Linked DNA regions of Homo sapiens: all the other regions are linked to region 3. The links are contacts of gene promoters, found by promoter capture Hi-C in blood cells and fetal thymus (Javierre and others, 2016). All regions are on one chromosome and are shown on one strand. Each heading gives the region's core, a stretch centred on a gene start or on the middle of the fragment in contact. The rest is flanking DNA. Distances are from core to core; before and after follow the strand shown. Region 1 has its middle 120 kb from the start of SIRPG. Region 2 overlaps PSMF1 (proteasome inhibitor subunit 1). Region 3 holds the start of FKBP1A (FKBP prolyl isomerase 1A).

Region 1 (3,842 bases), core at 1,188-3,687, 380 kb after region 3:
AGTCCTGGGTTCAGGCTCTGCTTTCAGGGGAACCCAAATAAAGATACCCACAAAGATATTTCCATGAGAGGAAGCACAGCCCTGAGATGCATGCAGTGTTGAGTAGGGAGGGGCTTGGAGTGGGAGCTAATTTTATATGTAATCGATTTATTTTTGAAAATTTGTATTTTCTATAACTTTTGCTTCTCAACACCATCGTCCTAGCTCAGGAGAATTACATAATAAATACTCAGATAAGGAAGATTCCCTGAACTATCATTTCTCTATTTTACAGACAAAAATACTGAGGATGGGAGAACATAAGCGACTTGCAGCAGATCCCACAACTGGTAAATAGAGCAGAGTTGGAAGCTGGAATTCATGCCAAGGTTTCTCACTCACCGGCTTTACAACCTTAAGCAGCCTTCACTTCTTTGAGCCTCAGTTTCCTTCTGTAACCCACAAATGGCACAAACAGTATAGGGAAGTTCTATGCATTGAAGTCCATTCACATGAGTGTGCTTTACTGTCTGCGTGCTGTAAATGTTTGAGACATTACTACCAATATTTTCTGCCATGTAACATGATGTGTTTACTTCCCAATAGCACAATTCTCCCCCTGTTTTGTGAATGAGAAAATGAAGAGAGATATAGTTTGTAGATTTTAAAGTCCAATATACATTCAAGGAATTAATTTTACTGCTATGCAAGCTTGGACCACTCACTTGCCTTCTCTGACTTTTACAGTTGTCAGAACAATGGGATGACGGTTAAGATTTCTTCTAGGCATGATACTTTATGACCTCATGGAATTCACAGATCTACCAAGCATTGGTCCAACCCGTCTAAAGACACCATTGGCCCTAGAATTTAGTTTCCCAAGCTCTTCAAATCTTCTTCCTATAAAATAATGATAATAATAAAATTGAATTCCCAGAAGATATCCTGTCTCCATTTTACAGATGAAAGAAGTGAGTTCTGAGAAGTGCTGTAAATAATAATAATAATAACAATTGCCACTTCTGAGTAGTTAGTATGAGCAAGGCACTGTCTTACGTGCTTTACAGGTATTATTTCACTAAATTCTTGCCTCAATCAAACAAGGGATGTGCTTGCTTATCATTGAAGGTTCTTCTTCATTTTTCATTGAGGAAACTGAGGCTCAGAGAAGTCCCCACCCCAACTCTGCACTACCTCAGCTGAGCAGAGAGAGAGATCTTACCCTGGAGGTACTGGTCCAGGCCAGTGGTTTTCTGGAAAAACCACGTCAACTTGTGCTCCACATGGCAAACGACGTGGGAGAACACATCATCATCCATCAGCGGGACAAGCACACTGCTGGTCACATTGTAGGTGTGTCCACTGTACTGGACGCTGGTCTGGGGGTTTGGGAGCTCGTGTTTGTTTTTAAGCCAGGTCACAGTAACCTGGTGTGTCGAGAACCCAGAGGATGCATAGGTCAATCGGATCCTTGTGCCAGGCTCAGATCGCTGAAGGGGGCCTTGCAACTTGTAAGGCTGGACACTCTGGCCTGCAAGGATAGACCCCTCCCATGAGAGGGCACAGAGGTGCCTGAACCCCAGTGTGAACAAATACACAGCATCTGCCAAGAAGCCCATTGCTTCCTCTTTCATAAGATGTAAAGGTTATGTTCTGATAGGAACCAGTTTCTGAATCTGATAACGGAGGCCGGACAGTGAAACTGTAGCAATGGGCAACAGCAGTTTGTAAGGAGGTCAACTCCTACAGATACTGCATAGCGAACACTCACTTGGCACCTACCCTGCCTACAGGCTCTTCCCTAAGTCACTGAGTTCTCACAGCAGCCCTCAGAAGTGGGTGCTGTTACTATCCCCATTTCACAGATGAGGAAACTGAGGCCAGGCAGGCTAAGTAACTTGTCTAAGGTCCATCAGTCAGTGGCAGAGCTGGGATCTTAGCCAGGTAGTCAGGCTCCAGGGTCGGCACCCCTTACTGTCACTCAGCCCTACCCTCAGTCTTTGAAAATGGAAGAAAACCTCATTTCTCAGAGGCTGGGTCATGGAGAAGAGGCTGGAACCATGGAGAAAAGGTTAGGAGCACAGGCTTTAGGATCTCACTCAACCCAAGTTTACATTTCCACTCTCCACTGAAGCCCAAGCAACTTAACTCTCTGAGCCTCAGTTTTTTCATCTGTAAAATGGGGGCGATTTTTTTTAATAGAAGAAGAATGGCTTAAATTTTATAACAACTATTCATCCCATTTTGATATCTGGAGTATAATTAAATTCAGACTTCCTTTGTTTATTTAGCCATTAGTTTTGATGAAGTACATTTTTCTTTTCTTTCTTTTTTTAAATTTTATTTTACTTTAAGTTCTGGGATACATGTACGTAATGTGCAGGTTTGTTGCATAGGTAAACATGTGCCATGGTGGTTTGCTGCACCTATCAACCCGTCACCTAGGTATTAAGCCCCGCATGCATTAGCTTTTGGTCCTGATGCTCTCCTTCCCCTCACCTGCTGCAACAGGCCTCGGTGTGTGTTGTTCTCCTCCGTGTGTCCATGTGTTCTCATTGTTCAGCTCCCACTTATGAGTGAGAACACGTAGTGTTTGAGTTTCTCTTCCTGCATTAGTTTGCTGAGGATGATGGCTTCCAGCTTTATCCACATCCCTGCAAAGGACACAATCTCATTCCTTTTTATGGCTGCGTAGTATTCCGTGGGGTATATGTACCACATTTTATTTATCCAGTCTATCACCAATGGACATTTGGATTGATTCCATGTCAAGGAATTTATTTTACTGCTTTGCTATTGTGAGTAGTGCTGCAATGAACATACGCATGTATGTATCTTTGTAATAGAATGATTTATATTCCTTTGGGTATGTACCCAGTAATGGGATCGCTGGGTCAAATGGTATTTCTGGTTCTAGATCCTTGAGGAATCACCACACTGTCTTCCACAATGGTTGAACTAATTTACATTGCCACCAACAGTGTAAAAGCGTTCCTATTGCTCCACAGCCTTGCCAGCATCTGTCATTTCTTGAGTTTTTAATACTTGCCATTCTGACTGGTGTGAGATGGTATCTAATTGTGGTTTTGATTTGCATTTCTCTCAGAGTTAATTAATAAATTAAGTGATGTAACTAGTGTAGAATATGTAGCACACAGTAATCACTATATAAACGGTAGCCCTCCGCACCATATACTCACAATGACCATCCAAGGAATTATTATTAATCATATTTTTAATATTAACAGATAAAGAAAAGGCTCAGGGAGGGTTAGTGACTCATCCAAGGGCCTCACAGTGAACAGAACTGACATTGTAACCCAGGAATTCTGACTCCAAGCCAAGGCCTTTTTCTGTTACATCATAGCTGCCTCTACTTCTGCACAGTTGGCTCTATATTAACCAATGACCTTTAATATTGTCCTACTTGCAGCTCAGCTCTGGGCTAGGCACTGTGGAAACTGCAAACAGTCACTGCAGAGAACTTGCTATGGGCCCCATTGTCCAGATGCCAAGCAGGAGTCAAGGAAAGGAATCTTAAGCAGGGCTCTTTGAGGTGGGTATAACAATTGTCATTACAACAATGGAAAACTTGACTCAGAAAGGGAGTTGCGGCCAGGTGTGGTGGCTCACGCCTGTAACCCAGCACTTTGGGAGGCCGAGGTAGGTGGATCACCTGAGTTCAGGAGTTCGAGACCAGCCTGACCAACACGGTGAAACCCCATCTCTACTAAAAATACAAAATTAGCTGGCCATGGTGGTGTGTGCCTGTAATCCCAGCTACTTGGGAAGCTGAGGCAGGAGAATCACTTGAACCCGAGAGGCAGAGATTGCAGTGAACTGAAATCACACCATTGCACTCC
Region 2 (3,402 bases), core at 857-3,356, 270 kb before region 3:
GAGACCTTGGGCAGCTCTCTGACCATCTCAGGCCTTAGAGTTTTCTTTTCTTTTTCTTTTTCTTTTCTTTTTTTTTTTTTTTTTTTTAATCCGAGATGTCTCACTCTGTCACTCAGGCTAGAGTGCAGTGGTGCTATCTTGGCTCACTGTAACCTCTGCCTCCTGGGTTCAGGCAATTCTGCCCCAGCATCCTCAGTAGCTGGGATTACAGGTCCCCGCCACCATGCCTGGCTAATTTTTTTTGTATTTTTAGTAGAGACAGGGTTTCACCATGTTTGCCAGGCTGGTCTCGAACTCCTGAATGCAAGTGATCTGCCTGCCTCTGCCTCCCAAAGGGCTGGGATTACAGGCAAGAGCCACCGCGCTCAGCCTCAGGCCTTTGATTTTTCATCAGAGGAAGTTAAACCACGTGACTGTGTACTTAGGCTACTTTCCAACTGTGGCTTTCTGGGACTCTTGATATTTGATGTCAGGGTTTACAGGGCAGTTGCAGACCATGTTTGGCCTGATATCGCCAGGGTCTGTCCTCTGTTTACTGGGGAACATCAATTGCACTGCAGTTAGAGATATCAGTTTCACCTGACTTCAGGGATTTTCTGTAACTCTGGAAGCCAAAGGTGATGGGGTGGTGAGCAGACCAAATTGTTTATATTCCAAGAGAGAACTCTGGTGGATTGAATGCTGTACATGGAGGATATAATATAAATTTAAAGGCGTTTGCCAGAGCAAAGATGAGGATGTCATCAAATTCCTGGCTTCCAAAGTAAACAAATCCACGACACTAAACACTAAACATATTCGGGAAATTTACCCAGTTTGGGGTGAGGGGATAGTTTCTTTTTCGCAGAAGAATGGTTTGATTAGTTTTACTTTTGTTTTTCCTCACTCTCATTTCTATGCTTCAGGCCTATGAATTTCATTGTCATCCAGCCAGGTTTTAAACCATGACAGTTGCGACATCCTGAATTTTATTTGGGATCTCTTTCCCCAGAGGATTTCTGAGCACCAGGGGTGACGAAACAGGAGAGGCCAGCAATTCTCAATGTGTGGTCTCCCCTTGTCCTTGGTGTGTGAAGTTTTGCTTTGCTGGACCTTTGTCTTTTCCATTTTCTTCATCTCCGGTCCCACTCCCTCCCGCTGTATTCTCATGACTACAGATCTTCCCAGTCCACCTGCCCCATGGTGAGCAATATAAATATACATCCATGAAAAAAGATTATAGCATTTTTTTGTGCTTTTTAAAATTTTTACATAAGTGGTACTGGAGTGTAAACCTCATTTTTTGGGGAACTTTTCTTTAAATCATATTTTTTCTTTTATATATAATACTATCATTAGATCTGGTTTATTCCTTCTGACTGCTATATAGTATTCCACTATAAGCATATTTTGCATTTTATCTCCACTTTTGCTACCTTAGCCAAGGCTATAATGAAGATCCTTTGTTATGTACCCTGTGCACAGGGTTTCTTCTGGGAGTAGGGATTTTGGATCATAGGATATTGGCTCATCTAATTGCACTAAAAACTGTCAGATTGCTCCCCGAAGGGGCTGTGCAAGTTTAAATGCCCACCAGCAGGGACTGGAGGTTCCCATTCTCCCCACACCTACACAGACATCTGGCAAAAAATAGAAAACTGGGTAATAACAGTCCGAATCATGTAACTTAGTGTCTCATTATTTCAGTTCTGCTTCTCTGATTGCTAGTAAAATTGAATAACTCTTTAGACACTATTAGCCGCTCTTTTTCTTGTTCATATCTTTTGCCACTTTTTGGAGTTCCCAATTGTTATTGTTCATTTTCCAGGCATTCCCTTTATGTAGAGGTTATTAATTTCTTTCCTTTGCAGCCATGGCAAATGTCTCTTCCTAGCCTGTGGCTCCTTATTAATTTAGTAGTGTCTCTGTAGAACAGAAGCTTTCAATTATGAACAGTGTCAAAGGCAGCATTTTCTTTTATGGATCTTGTTTAAGAAATCTTCCCCACCTAGAAATCACTATATTATTTTTCCTGTAGAAATAATTTGAGAACTATTTCTCAAACTTTAGTATGGAAAGTCTTAGGATTTTTAAAAAAGAAAAGAGGAAGACATCACAACTCACAATAAAAGATGTATTTTACACCCACCAGGCTGACAAGCATGAAAATGGCAAGCATTTTACCCCTACTAGATTGGCAAGCAATAATAGCAATGTTGCCAACTACACGGAGCAACAGGAGCTTTCATACATTGCTAGTGGGAGTATAAATCAGTAACTCTTTAGAAAACAACTTGACTTTATCTTATAAATTAAAAGCTTTTCCTCCATGCATACTGTATAGAAATTTATCCACGTGTACCAGATGTGTACAAGAATGTTCATAGCAGCATTGTTTATAATAGCAAAACAAATAAGCTGGAAATACTCCAAATCACCATCAACAAGTAGATGTATAAATTGCAGCATAGTCATACAGAATGCTGTGTAGCTGTGAATGTGAATCAGCTGTAGTTAAATGCATTGACATGGATACATTTCCAAAAACTATCAAATAAAAAAGGCAAATGACGGAAGTGATGCTGTGTATTTAAAATTCAAAAACATTTGAAGCTATATTTTTATGGTTGCATGTATAGTAATATAACTCTAAGGAAAAGTAAAGAAATTGTTTAAGAGTGGTGATTACCCTTGAAGGGGAAGGAGGGACATTTATTGGAGTATGCTACCCAAGGCTTTAGCAGTATTGCTGATGTTCTATTTCTTAAGCTGGTGGTAGAGACATTTTATAATTCTTTGTTATTTGTACATGTGCTACATTTTGTGTATTATGAAATTATAATTTTTGTACATCACTGCAGTCAGTTAGCGTGTATTCGGATCTGTGTTTTTAGTCAACACCTTGGTAATCCTATTGAAGTTAGCCTAACGTCCAAACTTTGAAAAACACTACTTAGAACTTCGCAGTGTTCCTCAAGATGACTGGCTTTATTCTTAGCAGTGGGATGGGGAAGAGATAATTATTAAACCAACACTGCAGATTCTTGACAGGTTCCAGTGCTGTGTCAGAAAGGTAGCTCAATATGAGGGAGAGCGCAGTAGAACAGAAGCCCAGAGACCTGGGCCCTAGACCTCTCTCTCGCTGTAGGATCTTGGGCAAGTCATTTCTCTTGACCTCCACATCTTCATCTGTGAAGTGAGGTGGGTAAGATTAGCTTATCTCGTGAGGTTCTTTATAGTTCTGTGTTTTGAGTTCATGATCTTTCTCCTCTCAACTGTGGTCTTCCCAGCCGGGTCCCAATGATAAGAAGTCAGAACTGCTGCCAGCTGGGTGGAACAACAATAAAGACCTGTATGTCCTCCGGTATGAGTATAAGGATGGGTCCAGAAAGCTCCTTGTGAAAGCCATCACCGTGGAGAGCA
Region 3 (3,974 bases), core at 416-2,915:
CCTACAAGGACAGCTATCTAAAACATCAAAAGCACTTTCCAGCTTCCTTCACGGACATGAGACTGCCTGCTCCCCAGAAAGATGGGTTTCAGTAACTCCTCCTTTGGCAGAATTTTTAAAGTTCTAGTCCTTAACTTCTACCTCCTGCCCCCATTTCTACCCACGGGGAAGGGCCACAGAAATAAAAGGGCATGGGAGGGGGGATGTTAGTTGCCTTTTCCTCTTTCCAGTGAAAGTCATTTCCCTCAATAGAGGGATCCCTCCATGTTTCCATGATTTGGAAGAGAAAGGTGGAGCTTATTCGTGAGCAACTTGGCCAGAACTGCCCACAGCCTACTACCCAGGAGGAGGAAGAGGAGGAGAGGGAGTGGGAAAAAAAGAGGGAGGAGGAGGGGGAACAGAGGAAAGGGTGGGAAGGTTGAGAAAGGGGAAGGAGGAGGGGGAGGGAAGGTTATTCGTATCAACAACTGTGGCTACACCAATCACTGCCACCCTTGTGGGACCCACAGCCACTGAGTCTCCGCCAACTCAGCTCTCCCCCTCCCCCGCCCCCATACAAACCAGGACAAGCTTGTAAGGAGAAGGAGTAAGACAGCCCCAAGGCACACGACTCTGATGTCTGAATTCTGGCTGGGGAGGGGGAGGTGTCTAAAATTTCCTTTGGCTTGTATTATCACTATGTATTAGCCTCCAGATGCTTATCTTTAAAATGAGGACGAGAAAAGTCTCTACTTCTAGAAGAGCTGGGGGACTAAATTACACGTGCAGCTTTCGGTCAGCCTGAGCCAGCGCTGTCACTGAGCCTTGGATTTGTAAGTGGCTCAAAAGTAAAAAGACGGAAGAAGGCCGTGCAGCTCTACTTCCCCCAAGGCCAGGAAGGGCCAAAGCAATGACTTAGGAAGTGGGATGTTTCCCCACCCTAGGCAAAGGGGCGAATTCCGAGTTCCCCGGAGGAAGCAGCAGCTCTGCAGACTCGGAATTACCTCGTCCTCATCTCCAGTGAAGGGAGGGATGGAAGTGGGGGCAGGGGCACAGAAATGGTACAAATCCTTCCTAATGGTCCCTGGCCAGAGCTCTGCCCATTCCTGAAAGTGTGACCTTGGGAAAGTGAGACCTTGGGAAAGTGACTTCGCCTCGCCAAGCCTCAGTTTCCTCATCTGTGCAGCGGGCATAAGGGCAGCATCTAAGGTGCAGAAATGCTTCTGACGGGTCAGATAACACCTAGCCCGCAGCCGACGCTCACAGCCGCCGATTCAGACCCGCCCGGGTTCCGCAAGCCCCAGGCTGCCCCTGAGCCACCGCCCAGGCCTCAGCCTCGGGCCATGCGGACCTCGCCGCCGCCACGCCCCGGACCCCAGGCCCCGGGCCCCCAGGCCTCGACGGCCAGCCGCACCCGGGCTGCGGACTGCGGCCCGGGCCCCCTCCCCGCTGGGCCCCCGACTCACCGGTGTAGTGCACCACGCAGGTCTGGCCGCGCTTGGGGAAGGTGCGCCCTGAGGAGACAGAGACGGGCATGCTGAGCCGATGCGCGCGGCGGCAGAGGTACTCCGAGCCGCCGCGCGCCACTACTCACCGTCTCCTGGGGAGATGGTTTCCACCTGCACTCCCATGGCGGCGGCGGACGCTGAGCGGGCGGGCGGCGCGACGGGCGGCGTGGACCAACAGCGACCTGGCGGCGGTTCCACGGCTCTGCCTAGTACCTCGGCGCGTCGCCTGCGCACGCGCACGCCCCCTCACGCCCAGCCCTGCGTGCGCGCCCCACACGGCGCGCGACGTCCCGGAAACCCAGGCCTCCGGAAGAGGGACCGGAAGCCCAGAAGCCCCGAGACCTCCGGAAGCCCGGAGGCCTCCGGATACAGCTGTGTTTGCCGGGTGACTTGCTTCGTTCTCCTGCCCTTCCTCTGTGCTTCCAGCCGGTTAAGCATCTCCCTGCCCAAAGAATGGGAGTAATAATAGGGGGTCCGCCAGTCACTGACTGGGTGACTGTCATCAGGTTTCCACTTAGAAGCACACAGTTACTCATCCTGGGAAGAGCATGGTTCTGAGAAGACAGCGCACAGGTGGTGGTAGTATGTTAGTATTTTATAAGTGGCTCAAGGTTGTAAGTTCTGCTTTTCTTCACTGGAGGAGGAGTTGTCCAAATTCATTCACTCACCCATAGCTTACATGCATACATTCTTATTGAGCATGTGAAAGTTGATAATACGAATTGGGTCACTCTTCTTATGCCCAACGGAATCAGAATCCAGGGGCCAGGGGAAAAGCACTGGAGGCACGCAGCGCCTGCTCCAAGAACCAATATTTCCACTAACTGCTGCGGAAATGGCCTGCTGTCCCCCTGAGACCAGATTCAGCTAGTAACTGCTGAAACAACCCGCCATAACCTAATACTAGTTTTACTTACCACTGTCAGTCACCAATCAGAGCTTGCCAGCTCCCTGAAACTTTACTAGTGCCAATGCATTTCCCTTTCTAATAAAACGCCCAGCCTTCTCTTTGTTTTTCGGACATACCAAAGACCACCAGATCTGTGTGTATGCTCCGAGTTGCGATTCTCGCTTCCCCAAATAAAACATTACATTTAGAGATTCATCTCCATATTTTATTTTGACTTTGACAAGCACCTTCTGTATGTCATGTACTGTGCTAGGTGCTGAGGATACAGCGGTGAAGGAGTCAGACTTAGTCCCTGACCTCACAGAATCTACGTATGATGTGGGAGAGATAATCAAATAACCTGTTTAAGTAAAAAAAGATACGGAATAAATGTAAAGTTTCAAATCTGTAATATTATGAGACAGTAATACATGCTGTGAGGGGCGTGTTAATATAACAGAGATGCCTCACTTAGTCTGGAATGTGGTCAGATATTTCCCTGAGTTAGCCAGGTTTAGCCAGGTTTAGCCAAGGTTAGAAGGCCAATTGTGTGTATGTGTTGGGGTAAGGGGAGGCAGAAGGAGCAGTACCTGCAGAGGCACTGTAACGCAAGAGAACACTGTGACATGGTCTAGGACATAAGGAGGCACATGTGACTAATCTTTCTCTGATCTGTGTGTGTGTGTGCTTCTGCATTAGTCGATTCTCACACTGCTATAAAGAATACCTGAGGCTGGGCACGGTGGCTCATGCCTGTAATCCCAGCACTTTGGGAAGCTGAGGCGGGCAGATCACTTGAGGCCAGGCGTTCAAGACCAGCCTGGCCAACATGGTGAAACCCAGTTTCTACTAAAAATACAAAAAAATTAGCCAGGCATGGTGGCACAGGCTTGTAATCCCAGCCACTTGAGAGGCTGAGGCATAAGAATTGCTTAAACCAGGAGGCGGAGGTTGTAGTGAGCCAAGATTGCACCTCTGCATTCCAGCCTGGGTGACAGAGTGAGAACCAGTCTCAAAAAAAAAAAAAAAAAAAAAAAATTCCTGAGACTGGGTAATTTATGGAGGAAAGAGGTTTAATTGACTCACAGTTCTGCATGGCTGGGAATCCTCAGGAAACTTACAATCATGGCAGAAGGGGAAGCAGGCATATCTTACACAGCAGCAGGCATGAGAGAGAGTATGTGAAGAGGAACTGTCAAACACCTATAAAACCATCATTTCTCATGAGAATGCACTCACTACCATGAGAACAGCATGGGGGAAACCACCCCCACCATCCAATCACCTCCCACCGGGTCCCTCCCTTGACCTCAGGATTATAGGGATTACAATTCAAGATAAGATTTGGGTGGGGACACAGAACTAAACCATACCAGCTCCTGTAGTGTTTTAAACATGACCTCACAGTTTTTTGACACCCCAACCCTCATCTATGTCCCCTTTCCTAAAATCTCAGTGAGCTCGTGACTGCTTTGGAAATTTTAATGTAGTAAGAATACAGGCTGTAACAGAACCAAATTAACTGTGGCTGAAAAGAGGCTGAAGTTGCTGTCTCTCTCATGTAACAGTTCAGAGGCAGGTGGTTCAGTGCAGGTAGG

Evidence for each region. Contacts are between HindIII fragments. The CHiCAGO score rates a contact against its expected background, and 5 or more counts as called.
Region 1: a contact is called between a fragment that was not itself captured here and the fragment with the promoter of FKBP1A in region 3, in 1 of 17 cell types (fetal thymus). The highest score is 5.5, in fetal thymus.
Region 2: a fragment that was not itself captured here is called in contact with the fragment with the promoter of FKBP1A in region 3 in 3 of 17 cell types (naive CD4 T cells, fetal thymus and total CD8 T cells); the score reaches 6.4 in naive CD4 T cells.

The regions. Positions count from the first base shown.
Region 1 is chr20:1,772,033-1,775,874 of GRCh38, forward strand. It overlaps the pseudogene LOC100289473. Among named protein-coding and RNA genes, the nearest start is that of SIRPG, 120 kb to the left of the region's middle. The HindIII fragment of the contact is 3,499 bases long and covers 689-3,842 here.
Region 2 is chr20:1,122,229-1,125,630 of GRCh38, forward strand. It overlaps PSMF1 (proteasome inhibitor subunit 1), which reads left to right. Exons shown (of 7, transcript NM_006814.5): 2 at 3,270-3,402. Among named protein-coding and RNA genes, the nearest start is that of PSMF1, 5.3 kb to the left of the region's middle. The HindIII fragment of the contact is 380 bases long and covers 1,917-2,296 here.
Region 3 is chr20:1,391,389-1,395,362 of GRCh38, forward strand. FKBP1A (FKBP prolyl isomerase 1A) reads right to left here and starts at 1,666. Exons shown (of 5, transcript NM_000801.5): 1 at 1,574-1,666; 2 at 1,446-1,493. The coding sequence starts at 1,610. FKBP1A-SDCBP2 (FKBP1A-SDCBP2 readthrough (NMD candidate)) reads right to left here and starts at 1,784. Exons shown (of 10, transcript NR_037661.1): 1 at 1,574-1,784; 2 at 1,446-1,493. MIR6869 (microRNA 6869) reads right to left here and starts at 1,573; the gene lies at 1,512-1,573. RefSeq lists enhancers at 1-266, 1,058-1,558 and silencers at 1,293-1,362, 1,373-1,472, 1,673-1,722. The HindIII fragment of the contact is 4,016 bases long and covers 569-3,974 here.